2 separate regions of the Homo sapiens genome follow, and region 2 is linked to region 1. Evidence: promoter capture Hi-C in human tissues and cell types (Jung and others, 2019). All regions are on one chromosome and are shown on one strand. Each heading gives the region's core, a stretch centred on a gene start or on the middle of the fragment in contact. The rest is flanking DNA. Distances are from core to core; before and after follow the strand shown.

What was found. The method cuts DNA at HindIII sites, captures the fragments that hold promoters and counts their contacts. A contact is called where the count stands out against the background at its distance.
Region 2: a contact is called between a fragment that was not itself captured here and the fragment with the promoter of TPM1 in region 1, in 4 of the 25 tissues and cell types used here (bladder, heart right ventricle, liver and 1 more).

What each region holds. Positions count from the first base shown.
Region 1 is chr15:63,037,096-63,043,996 of GRCh38, forward strand. It overlaps TPM1 (tropomyosin 1), which reads left to right and starts at 5,652. Exons shown (of 10, transcript NM_001018005.2): 1 at 5,652-5,848. The coding sequence starts at 5,735. RefSeq lists enhancers at 4,596-5,510, 6,424-6,901. The HindIII fragment of the contact is 3,976 bases long and covers 2,739-6,714 here.
Region 2 is chr15:62,973,750-62,980,650 of GRCh38, forward strand. No RefSeq gene overlaps it. Among named protein-coding and RNA genes, the nearest start is that of TPM1, 66 kb to the right of the region's middle. The HindIII fragment of the contact is 9,871 bases long and covers 1-6,901 here.

The DNA of each region.
Region 1 (6,901 bases), core at 4,402-6,901:
AAAATACAAAAATTAGCTGGGTGTGGCGGCGCATGCCTGTAATCCCAGCTACTCGGGAGGCTGAGGCAGGAGAATCGCTTGAACCCGGGAGGTGGAGGTTGCAGTGAGCGGAGATAGTGCCACTGCACTCCCGCCTAGGCAACAGAGCAAGACGCCGTCTCAAAAATAATAATAATAAAAATAACATAAAATAAATATGAAATCAAACTGAACCTAAAAACAGGCTGGGAATGAATGAATGAAAAGGGCATTGTTACTGAGAGTTCAGATATCTGCATTTTTGTTCCTGCACTGCCACCTCCCAGCTGAGTGGTCTTGAACCAGTTACTGCCCTTGGTGTGTGTGGTTTTGTTTTGGTTTAGGTTTTTTTTCTTTTCAAGACAGGATCTCATTCTGTCACCCAGGCTAGAGTACAGTGGCACACTCACTGCAACCTCAAACTCCTGGGTTCAAGCGATCCTCCTGCCTCAGGCTGCCGAGTAGCTGGGACCGCAGGTGTGAATTACCATGCCCCGCTAATTTTTAAAGTTTTTTGGAGAGATGGGGGGAAGCTCTACAAATTTGCCCAGGCTGGTTTTGACCTCCTGGCTTCAAGTGATCCTCCTGCTTTGGCCTCCCAAAGTGCTGGGATTACAAGCATGAGCCACTGTGCTCGGCCTGGTTTTCTCATGTACAGAGTGAAAATCAGAGAACTCATCCTGATGCTGTCATAAGAGGTTGGGAGGAGGAGGTAATGAACTTGAAAGTGCTTTATAAACTATACAAACATGAAGGAATATCGCCTTTCTTAAGACAGCTAAATCTGCCACACTTGGAGCTTGATTAAATCTACACTGAGTTGCTACTGTTGAGAGACAGACAATAAGAGGTAAGGCAGGAAAACTCCTATGCCTTTTTTTTTTTGTACTGGGACAATCATTTTGCCCATGCAAACATTCCAGGTAATAAGCGTGCTCAAGGGCCTCTCCAAAGAATCAGGACCAGCTGTGTGTTACTAAACAATAAAGGCAGGCACGCCTTGAAAATGGCCTAAAGACCTTTCTCAGAGATCCAAACCAGCCCCACCCCCCGCCCCCAGGAAGCATAGCATATTTTCTGTGAGGCCTTGATGGTAGCATCACAAACCCTTGGGAAACACAACTCCCAGTGTTTGAGGAGAGCATGCCGTATCTTGTTCCAGGGACACTGAGTCGTGAGCATAAAACGCTGCATTCCAAAAGAGACGAAGAAGCAGTCGTCTCTCCATTTAATTATAGATTCTTCACTTTCCCTTAATTGCTTCAGTCAGCACTGTTGACTCTGGGGGAGTCACAGTACACCGGCAGGGCTATTGCTGTTAAACAAGGGGTGACTATCAGGTAATGAGGTTTTCATTTTGTTTTTTCAAACAAACAAACCCTGATGTACATATTCAAGTGGGCATTCCTGTTAAAGGTGTCACATTGGGAAATGATGCTCATGTTGACTCTCCTTTGTAACCAAATATTGATAAATGTAGTATGACACATACAAGTGTTTTATGGAAGGAAAAAGGCAGCATATTTAATATTAAAGCTTTCCTAGAAAACCCGAGATATGTGATCCTCATAACTATAGAGGGCCCCAGGTGACCAACTGAGCTGATGGTCATGCCATGGGAAATACATATTAAATGACTCCCAAAGAGAGGGTTCTCCCTGCATCATACATAGACACTTTTCCTACAGAAAAAGATCCATGTCTTTTGTCTGCTTCCCTGGATCCCATAAGCCCTAAATGTCTTGCACACAAAAGGTGTCCAATAAATATTTGGAGACATTTGTCTTACCCTATCACAATACTTATATTCATTCTTCATGAAATAAGACACAGAGCCCATATTTTGAATGGAAACAAGATCTTTTGAACCTAGATTTGTTACTTTACCTTCCCAGACTTTCTTGTAAGTCAGTAAGAAAGCTGGACTTGTCAGTCATAAAAAAAATTGTTCAACAAACATTCATTGAGAAATGACTGAATACCAGGCACTGGAGAAATCTGGAAATTCCAAGCATGTTCGTGGTGATCACGTAGAGCCTCTAGGCCAAGAATGTTGAATGTTGTGCAGGCTGTCATGCCACCATGATTTGGTAAGCTTTTTACTTTCAAGGAATATAGACTCGCTTATGTAACCTCAAGAAATACAGGGGGTTATTATAAGGACCCCTGGAACTGAAATTTGGTCATATTCTCCCAATCTCTTTCTCTAAATGGTGCTTCTGTTTATCTTGATATGCCTGCTTCATTCTTTCTCTATAATCACTTCTCTGCTTTTTCATAACTTAGCTGATGCATGCCTATTGTGCTGTATTAGTCAGGAGAAGCTAGTTATGCTTCAGTAACAAACAACCCCCAATCTCAGTGGCCTAAAATAACAAAGATTTATATCTTATTCTCACTACATGTCCACCAAGGGTTAGTTGGGGGGAAAGAGGGAGCCACTTGAAAACCCACAATGACAGAGCAGCCACAGTCTTGAAAAATGAACATGGTTAGTCGTGAGCTCTTTAAGTATCCACCAGAAGTCATTTCTGCTCACGTTTCCTTGGCCAAAGCAAGTCAAATGGCCACAGCCAACTTAATTGGGTGGGATGTACAATGCTACCACGACATTGACTGGGGAGAAAACCTAAAAAATTGTGAATAACCTTAATCACTTTTACACGTGGCATTTCCAGCCCGACACTGCAATCCCTTTTTGTTTCAGCAGCCACGGCTAGTGATTCCCATTTTTCACGTTCCTTAATTCAAACTGCAATGAAAGAAGCTGAGTGGCCCAGTTCATCATTGCCTGACAAGCCACAACGCCAAGTCCCTGGTTAGTATTTAGATCCATCCTTGAGTTGTGGCCAATCAGCCAGAGAACAGGGATACACACTACATACAGCCTGTGACTGTCCAGCCTACCTCTGGAGAGGACCAGGAGACCTGTTCACTACAGAAGAATGTGTTATTTAAGTCATGACGTTTTGCTTGTCCTAGCTTTGTCTTAGCCCTTGGTGACAAAAAGGTCATGGGTGGTATAGCCCATGAAGCTGACTTGGGCCTGACACATGGCAGAATCTCAACATGGGTTAAAAGAAATGATTGAATTCAGGACCTGCTATGTTAACCCATCAGTCTAGAGATCAATGATGTGGTACTAAGGGATTTTAAAAGTTAGCGTTGTATAGCTCCATTTCCATACTTTGACACCATAGGCTTCGACCTCTGAATATAGGCCCTAGGTGAGGGAGTCTGGGAGAGGAAGAGGTGAAAAGAAGAGACATCGATGGCTTTAAACTACACAATAAGGTCTGAATGTCTGAATCTGGAATTCAAGGCCCTTTATCATACAGCCCCAAGCTTCCTTTCCAGTCTCATGCCCCCATTCACCCCCAAAATCCTACTGTCCAACCACCACCAAACATTCCTTTTTCTTTCCTTGGCGCATACAACGGCCCTCCTCTCTAGCTAACTGCTACCCTTCCTTTAAAATCAGTTTAAAAGCCATCACCTTTTCAGAGAATTTTTTCCCATCTGCTCTGACCTAGTCATTTCTATTTCTTCCTCGTGTGAATTCTTAACACCTTTCTCATGCCAAACACCTGGAGGACATAGACCTGTGCTACTCATTCTTTGGATTCCAGAGCCTAGTACCTGCCTAGTATATAGCAGGTACTCAACAACCGTGTGTTTAATAAATTGCTTGTAGCATGATTTCATTTAAGGAAACTTTAATGAGTCCCTCGGCTACATATGGCACAGTAAGAAAAGAAAAGTCAGTAACATGTGGTCCCGCAAGGAGTTTCTCTAGTTCAGTTGCCTCTTTTTATAAGTGAGAAAAAAGGCTTAGAGAGATTGTAACATGGCTAAGGTCACACTGCAAGGAAGTGACCAGGCCAGGTCTGGATCCCTGGAACTGACTCCTAACTCCCTATTCTTGCCTCCTCTGCTGAGCTCCAACCTGGGGAGTCAGCTCCCTGGAGTCCACGCATCTGGATATCGTCCACATGCCTGGAACTTTGTCACTGTTCCGGTGGCTGGGTTGACACACCGTGATTAAAGGGCTCTGGTCAATTTCTGTGCCACGCAGCCCCTATGCTAATGGTCAGATCTAATGTTCTGACCATTAGGTCAGTGTATCTTTTCCCTCCTGGGCAGTTAGGTTAGTGGAAGAAACCCGATAAAATCTTGGAGAGGAATTTGATCATTCTCTGAAGGACTTACAAGTTGTTTGGCCTGCCTAATCTGCTCAGATACCGTCCGGGGAATATTTGGTAACCATGCAGTACAGACTGTGAATTATTCTGTGGGGACTATTAACAAGACCCTCACCAACCCTGCCTCAGCTGATCTCAGGGCTTGGGGGCAGCCCCCTCTCCTCCCCTCCCACTGAAGCTCTGAAAAAAAGCAGCCTTTCCCCCTTGGGAGATGGGAGGAGTAGTTAAAAATAAGAAGTGTTGGGGGAAATCCTCCTCCTTCCAAGCACAGCTCACACGGCAGAGCCTCCTCAGAGTTGCGGCTGCGGATGCAATGACTTAGCCAGGTTAACGCCGATCCCATGTTTTCCGAAACCTGGCACCTAAGCATCTAACATGGAAGGCCGACTCCCTAAAATCAGTGCAAGAAAAATGATAACAAGTTATATCTGGAGGGACCTCGGGGATTATCTACCCGCTGGATTTAAAGTTGAGGAAGCCGCGGGCAGCAAACAAGGTCTCACAGTTGCTGGTGGCAGAGTAGAGACCACAGACCAAATTGCCTGAGTCTAAACTCAATGTTCTTTCCCCTTAGACTGCCACCCGCACACACACGCACACATGCACACCTTTTTGGAGGCACTGCACAGCAAGCACAGAAGTACGCCACTGAGTCCTGTGTCCCTAAAGTATTTGACTGTCCCTCCGCTGGGGGAAAGGGCAGGCAGAAAACAAGACTCCGTGTGCTGTCGCTGTGCCGCCCCCTGCCTCTCTGACCCGCGCCCGCAGAGAAAGTCTCAAGAGCCGCCCCAGGCTTTCTCCCACGTTCTCCCTTTCTCTGCTGCAGTTGAGTTTCCAGAGCGTGAGCGCGCAGGATGACACCTGGCTGGCTGAGAGCTGCCGGGGAGGCGCTGGCGGGTGCCGAGAGCGCACTGACCCTGACGCGGGGTGCAGCACGGCTGGGAAGCCCCCGGGCCTTTGGCTAAGCGCGCCGGGGGACGGCACAGGGGGGCGACGCGCATCCACCACCTGGTCCGCGCTCTCCCGGCCTCCGGCAGCTCAGGGCGGGCTCGGTTGGGGACCCTAATGGCTGGGTGCCGGCCCTGGGAGAAGGGCACGCGGAGGGCGGAGGGTTGCGCCTCGGCCCCGGCTCGGCCCCAACGCCCTCTCCCTGGCGCGCAGGTTTAGAAACAGGGCGGCCTCTCCGGCCGCCGCCTCGGCGGCTCGGGTCCCCATATATAGTCATATCCACCGTCAACTGGGAGGCCGGCGGCCGGCAGCGAATGGGCGAGCGGCCCCCGCGGGAGGAGCGGGGAGGGGGCACGGGGCGGAGGGAGGAGAGGAGGAAGGGGGGCAGGAGAAAAAAGCTTTTCCAAAAAAGTATTGGCTGTCTTGAGGAATGCGGTCGCCCCCTTGGGAAAGTACATATCTGGGAGAAGCAGGCGGCTCCGCGCTCGCACTCCCGCTCCTCCGCCCGACCGCGCGCTCGCCCCGCCGCTCCTGCTGCAGCCCCAGGGCCCCTCGCCGCCGCCACCATGGACGCCATCAAGAAGAAGATGCAGATGCTGAAGCTCGACAAGGAGAACGCCTTGGATCGAGCTGAGCAGGCGGAGGCCGACAAGAAGGCGGCGGAAGACAGGAGCAAGCAGGTCTGCGCCTCCCCGGCCCTGCGCCCGCGCCCAGAGCGCCGGGACTCGAGCCTGGCACCCCCGGCTGGATCCCCACCCCGAGGACTCGGGGAGCCACCACCCTACCCCCACCACCACCCAGGGCGGCCAGGGCGCGCGTCTGGAAAGAAGGAAGGGAAACGCAAGAGCCAGGCTTAGTCTAACTTAGTCTGGTCTGAGGACGCTTATTTCCCTTCTCTGGTTCCCATGGCCCGCGAAATCAAGTCCTAGAGGCGCTTTATTCTCAGGACTGGGAATCAGTTTGGGGGAGGGAGGAGGACACCCGGTTCCTGGGGACGTTTGAAGGAAGGGCGAGGGATGGAGAAAGGGGGTCGAGTAACTCAAGTGTTAGAAGTTCGTTGACTTTTGACTGGGGAGAAAGGAACCTTAAACTTGGGGAGGAGAAGGGAGTCCTGGAGTTGTTACCTAAGAACAAAGATGGGGCGGAATGGAGGCTACAGCCCGAAAGCCAGGCCAGCAGTGGCGTTCTTCTGTGTCCCCAAGTAGTGGACTTGAGCCCGCTGAGACCTCGGCAGGAGTCTCGTCCCAGGGCAGGTGGGTGTGCGGGGTGAGCCGCGGAGCGGTTCCAGCTCGGGTAAAGAGGAAGTTACCTCGGGTCCTTTGCACTCCAACTCGGCGGCGCCCCGAGCCCGAGGGGCCCCAGCCAACCCGACGCCCGTGTGTTGTGTGTGTCTAACACCCGGTCCGTGCCGGCCGCCCGCGCCCGCCCGCCGCTGCCCCCAGCTCGAGGAGGACATCGCGGCCAAGGAGAAGTTGCTGCGGGTGTCGGAGGACGAGCGGGACCGGGTGCTGGAGGAGCTGCACAAGGCGGAGGACAGCCTCCTGGCCGCCGAAGAGGCCGCCGCCAAGGTACCCGGGGCGCGCGGCACGGCGTGGCGCACGAATGGCTAACTCTTTCTCTTTCTCTCTCTCCCTCCCTGTCTTTCCCTCTGTCTCTCCCGCTGTCCCTGTCCTTCTGGTTCTGTGCACCCACACCCCTCCCCTTCGGGATCACGCTGCCTGCTGCACCCCCCT
Region 2 (6,901 bases), core at 3,223-5,722, 65 kb before region 1:
TGGGTTATAGTAGTTTAGTGTCCCCAAAACCATTTTCAACTACCATCAATGCCTTACAGAGTGGCCTCAGGGTTCCTGAGAGAGATGCTTTTGAGCTGAGGCAGTCATTTTGGGGGCCCTTAAAATTTATGGAGCCAAATTCCAAGGACCTTTTCAACCCTATCTTACCTGATAGGTCCCACTGAAGCCACAGGTGGATGGCCAGAAGTGTCTGACCATTTGCTGCAAACTGACCCAGGGGGAATGTCAGGAAACTAGGCAATAAAAAAGACCTGATTTCCAATTCCAGTTCATGAGTTTGCATGACCCTAAGCAAGTAAAACTGTGGAAATATCACTGTCTCTACCCATGACACAGTCTTGTTGGGAGGAATCAACGAAGAAGCTATCTGGGAAGTCCCATCTAAACCGCTGTCTCGGAGCTCATCCATTTCATTCTTTCTTGGGCACTGATCATATTGGATTTCATTTCAAACACAATCCTTGGTTTCCTTGGACAACCTTTATTCAGTTTCACCCTAAATTCCAAACTGAGAGTGGGAAAATGCTGGTTTGGAAGTGTGGAGGTCATGGAAATAGATGCACAGGCACCTGGCTTAAAGAAGTGATGACAGAGAACAAAGAAGGTCACAGCGAGGGAATCTGAAAAAACAACAACTCTAAGGACAGAACAGACCGAGCTATTTATAGTGCTATAGAACTCCATCACCCCATACAATTTAATAATCCCTAAAAGTATCTCTGGGCAGGTAAAGAACAGCAGAGCGGTTTCGGCCAAGTCAATGATGGCTCAGGTGGCTGCTAGGTCCTTTTTTAGTGCTCAAACGCACACCACAGACAATGGCTTCACAAGTGTGTTCACAAGGGTGGCCTTGAGTCAACAAAGAAAAGGTTACATTGCATTGTGCTGTGTTTTACTAAAGAAGGTATAGGTGAGGCATGTTTTAGAAAGATATCAATTAAAAATGGTAGCAAAGTAAAGTGGGAAGGTCATGCAGACCTGGATTCAAATCCAGCTCCAACCTGACCTGGCCCTTGAGGCACACAGGTTACCTAACACCTTGGAGCCTCCATTTTCTTATGTGACAATGGGAATAATAAGAGCTGCCTCACAGAATTGTTGAGTGGCTTAAAAGACATAACAGGCCAGGCACAGTGGCTCACGCCTGTAATCCCAGCACTTTGGGAGGCCGAGGCAGGAGGATCACTTGAGGCCAGGAGTTCGAGACCAGCTTGGGCAACATGGCGAAACCCTGTCTCTACTAGAAATACAAAAATTAGCCAGGCATGGTGGTACACACCTGTAATCCCAGCTACTTGGAGTCTGAGGCATGAGAGTTGCTTGAACCCGGGAGACGGAGGTTGCAGTAAGCCAAGATTGCGCCACTGCACTCCAGCCTGGGCGACAAAGCGAGACTTTATCAAAAAAAAAAAAAAAAAAAAAAAAAAGACACAACATAGACTGGAGCCAGCACAGATGTTGGTCTTGAAAGCATAGGCCTCAGTTATCAGGGAAACGTGCAGATCTAAAGCCCTGGATCTCTGTCACAGTGCTGGGCAAATCAAGCATGGCATCATGATTAATACTAATATGGCTGCGGCTGCTACTACTACTATTACTGCTACAATCATTGTTGTCAATCTATTCCCATGCAGAGATGAAGGAGCAACTATTGATTATACTGGTAGAAAAGCAATTATTTTCTTTGTGTGTTTGTTTGTAGAGACAAGGTCTCACTATGTTACCCAGGCTGGTCTCAAACTCCTGGATTCAAGCAGTCCTCTCACTTAGACCTCCCAAAGTGTTATTTGACAGCCATGAGCCACTGCACCTCACCGGCAATTATTTTCAAGGCTGAGATGAGCTCTCAGTTCACAAGCCATCTCCTCAGTGAAAACTCCTCTCACCACAGGCCTCTCCCTGGCAGACGGCCCCGCCCTTCTCCGCACTCCCTAGGCCTTTGTTCCTACCTCTGTACGACTGCCTCGTCTTCCTGGAGATGGCATTCTGTGATGGGTGAGAGCACTACAGGCAGACTCAGTGAGAGAACTCAGGCAGACTGCGTTCAACCCTCTATGACATCTTGGCCAAGCTATTTTATCTCTCTCTGTGCCTCGTTTTTCTAATCTGTAAATGAAGGATTATAAAATACCTACCTCATGGGGTCAAGTATTAGGCTGAGGTGAGTTATAAGGTAAATTTCTTGGAATGGTGCCTGGGGACACAGAAAGTGTCACCAAATATTAGCTTATTACTATGTGTATATAATATATATACATATTTATATGAATACATACATATGTAATCCTATGTATATACATATATGTATATATAGCATACATATAACATATATAAGTATATGGAATATATTTATATACTACATATTTATAATATGAATATGCACATAACATATTCATATATAAATTCATATTTAATATGTCATATATTCATATTATCATATTATATTACATATATATTACATGTATACATATAAGATGTATACATTATATATATTATATACATGTGTGTATATATAAATCTACACGTGTATGTAACATGACATCTCATACAAACAGATGCTTGGTGAATGTTTTATGAATGAGTGTACGACAGTAGATGAACTGGGAGAAATTCTTTGAGTATTTCAATGAATTGCTGGCAGCTTTGCTGGAGAGGCTGTGACCTTTCCTTTCTAATTAACAGGCTCATGGAGGTGGGGAGAGGGTTGGGGGCTGGGGAGTCAGCAGTAGACACTGAAGCCCTTTCTTAATTGTACCAGACACCTTGTCTCATGACAGCACAGAGGAAGAATTCAGAGAATCAGACCCCCTCTCCTGAACATTCAGGAGAAGAATTGCATCTGACACTCAATATAAATACACAACATAGCAGGGACTAGTCTCCTCCTCCCTATAGGAAATCACTTATTCCCATATTTTGTTTTTGCCCTTCTCTGCCTTTATAAGATGATAAATCACTAAAATGGAATGTGGCTTCAAAAAGCCAAAAGTGCATTATTTACATTTTTCAGCCAACTCAGCAGATCTTCACATCGTGGGAACTCCCAGTGCCTTGGAGACTTGGAAAAGTCCCAGGAGCCCCTTACCAACTATTCCCCCAGAGCTAAAGGCCTGGAAGCTATGGCCTCGTGCGTCATTCCTACCCCTCTCTGCTCAGATGCTGAGAGGGGTCTGGGGACTCTCTAAACGACCCGCTACAAGCAAAGAGCCCTGTTGGGAGCTCAAGAGACCTGGACTAAATTCTCATGCTGCCTCTTTCTGGTTGTAAGCAATTGGACAAGTTGCTTACCATTTATCCTGATGTGATTATTATGCATTGCATATCAAAATCTCTCATTACCCCATAAACATATACACCTACTATGTACCCACAAAAAATTTAAAAATTTAAAAAATTCTCTGAGCCCCCATGCCTATATCTGTGAGTGCAGGCACTGTCCCTAGCTCCTAGGACTGTTACGTGGGCTAAATGATACTTAGGCGTGGAGCACTTGTCACCTGCAGGGGGGAGGTGTATGGAGCTTTCTTTGGCCTACATGGGACTATAGGGTCCCTGGAAAGACGTTGGTGCCTGAGTCAGAGGCCTTCATGCTAATGCCAGCTCATTAATTCATTGTGGAGCTTGTGCACATCATTTGTGCTCTCTGCCTTAGTTTCCTCCCTGCAACATAGGGGCAAAAATAGTTGTCCATGCCAGGCATGATGGCTCACACCTGTGATTCCAGTACTTTGGGAGGCCAAGGCGAGAGGATCATTTGAGGCTTGGAGTTTGAGACCAGCCTGGCAAAATAGCAAGACTTCGTTCCTACGAAAAAAAAAAAATGTAGCTCCACATGGTGGTATATGGCTGTAGACCTAGTTACTTAGGAGGCTGAAGCAGAAGAATCGCTTGAGTCAGGAGTTTGAGGTTACAGGGAGCTATGATCGTACCACTGCGCTCCAGCATTGGTGACAGACTGAGATCCTATCTCTAAAAATAATAATAATAATTGTCCAACTTACTTCCCAAAGTTACAAGATTAAAAAGTTAATTAACATCCCTTGTAAGTTTTTTTTTAAGTAAAAACTGTTTAATTCATTTTTTCTAAAGTAGCAAAAAACTAGAATTTCTTTGAATTAAGTAAGGTTTGTACTGTGGCCTTTGATTAATCATAGTAGATTGCCTTTTAAGCCATGAGAGCCACACTCTGAGAAAAGGCTTAAATGGCTTTAATTCCACTATAGTGTGCATGACTGATATCAAATCCTTTACTGAAACAAATTCTGATGGAGCAGAGGAGGGAGTAAGCACGGGGCATCTGTGGGCTCAAAATGAGCTCCACAGAGGGGCACCTGAGGGCACCAGAAACACACTTTGCCAACTCGCCCACAGCCTTTGGGCAGGTCTGGACACACAATTGTTTTAATGTCTGTGTCATGTTGTCCTCTCCCAAGTCTAGCTGACCCCATCCTTTATAAATGGAGAGGCAAGAGCTGGTTATGATAAGATATCTGGTTTCAGAAACAAGTGCTTTTGTTCCAAGTATTCCAGCAACAGCAACCTGGTGTCCCTGGCCTACCCAAATCCAGGACAAGTGTTCCTGCCAGTCTGCAGCCATCCATCTCTCCAGGCTTATCTACGAGTCATCATGGAAGTTAAAGAGCTGCTGGTGGCCATGGTAGCCTGCCTGGTCGCATGACCTCAATCCTCTCTCTGAACCAGCAAAGCTCCCTGACCCACGAGTCTCACAAAAACAATTCCTGTCTCTTGTCATCAGGTTCAGATGATGAGCTCAAACAATGCCCCAGGATGAGCCAGGAATGTCTTTGCCTGACTTGGCAAGTGGTTTCCCTGCCCTGCAGTGGCCAGAATGTGGGAGTGGAAAATTATTCTTGTTTCCTTCCGGAAATGACCACATTCGCCAGGGCCAGGCGCAAATCCACTGACTGCCCTGAAGGGAGATTTGCCTCCTCTTCAGAGGACAGAGGGAGACTTGGCCAAGCTTGCTTGGGAAATCAAAGTGTCTCCCAGCTGCCATGTTCTAACCCTAGGCCACACAATGAAACCAAAAGGGCCCCATTGAATGAGAATGGGTCTCACTCGTGAAGCCACTTCACTTCTACACACAAGACCATTCCTTGGATATTCCAGACACCCCCAAGTCTCTGCCACTATTGCTGTTGTTGACACACTCCTCAACTGGTGCTCACAGAGCGGGAAGGGGTCCAGGAGAGGAACCCCGCTCTTATCCTCCAGGTCCACTGCTCCAGGGCATGAGGAGGGGAGAAGGGAAGGGAGATAGCACTGTCCTGTCATACTGACCCCAGAGAAATGTGAAACACTTTTTCTCATTCCTTCTCTGTAGAGGTGAAACATACCAAACCTTCCACAGGGTTTTTATTAAACTCTACGAGTAGAATGAAAGAACAAGGAAAGGAGCAGAATTAGTATTTATTCAACAAATACTTACTGAACCAGCATTATGTGCCAGGCACTGTGCTGGCCATGGGGCAGATGTGAAAGAGCTAACCCCTGACTTTAGGGGGTTTGATAAACCCAGGTGCTAAATGAATGGTCCAATGGTTCCCAGGGAGCACACCCACTCCACCCCTTCCCACCACTTTATCTCAACCCCAGTCATTTCACAATTAAAAAAACAAAATGAAAGTCTAACACAATTTGTTCTCCCATGTGAGCTAGGAAGACCCAAACTCCCACAGGCTAAAAGTTTATGATAACAGGCAAGATTAATTAGTAGTTGTCATGAAAATGGAATGTCATTAATTATGCAGTTTGAAACTGTTCAAGTTCACTTCCTCCAAAATTAAATCCTAAAACTATAGCATCTGAAAACCTCCACATATGCTTGACTCATACTTGAGTCGTACACAACACTCACATACTAAATATTATCTACAAAACAGGTAGCGTTATCAATTTGAGTGTGTGTGATGTGGTAGGAGTGGTTGTGCTCCTCACACAGAAGGATGCCGGAGCACATGACTTCTTGTTTAAATCGAACACACAATTGGTACCTCTATTTTTAAATGCTGTTATAGCCAGACCGTTGTCTAGTGGATGACGCTCCCATGGGCCCCACAACACATGTAGGGTGCCCACAACAGTTAATTGTTGCATAACAAATCACCCCAAAACGTAGCAGCTTCCATACTAATCATTGGAAATTTCTCCTGATTTCTGTGGGGCAGGGATTTAGAGAGGCTCAGCTGGAGGTGCTGGCTCAGGGTCCCTCCTGAAGTGCTGTCAAGGGTCTGCTGGGGCTGCATGTAAGTGCTTGCTGGGATTAGAGGCTCCACTCTGAGATGGCTCACTCACAGGAATGGCAAGTGGGTGCTGACTGTTGGCCAGAGGCCTCCGTTTCTCTCCGTATGAGTCTTTCTACAGGGCTTCTTGAGTGTCTTTATGGTATGGTACTGGCTTTCTCCAGAGTGAGCAATGCAGGAGACTGAGGCTGAAATGGCAATGCCCTTTACGACCTAGCCTTGGTCCTAATTGTCACTTCTATCATACTCTGTTGGTCACACAGACATCCTTGATTCAATGTGGCGAGGGCTTTCATACAAAGCCTTGAAAGCCAGGAGCTGTGGCTCACTGGGGCCATCTTGGATGCTGGGCACCACTGGTATTCATCACCACGATGCTTCGGGCAAACCTCCCTGCCGTCCAATGTAGGCAGGCAGAGGAATGCTTCCATTTATCAAATCTCTGCATACTTGTGTGATGTTACATGTAAATGGACATATTTTAAAGAATTTTGTAGCAATAAAACAGACAATACCAAAACTCCAACAAACATCATTCAGCCTGTTTTTGAACATTCAGGAACCTCTGGACTACACTACCCACAGGTTACCGCTGTTACCATGTAGGCATATGGCCT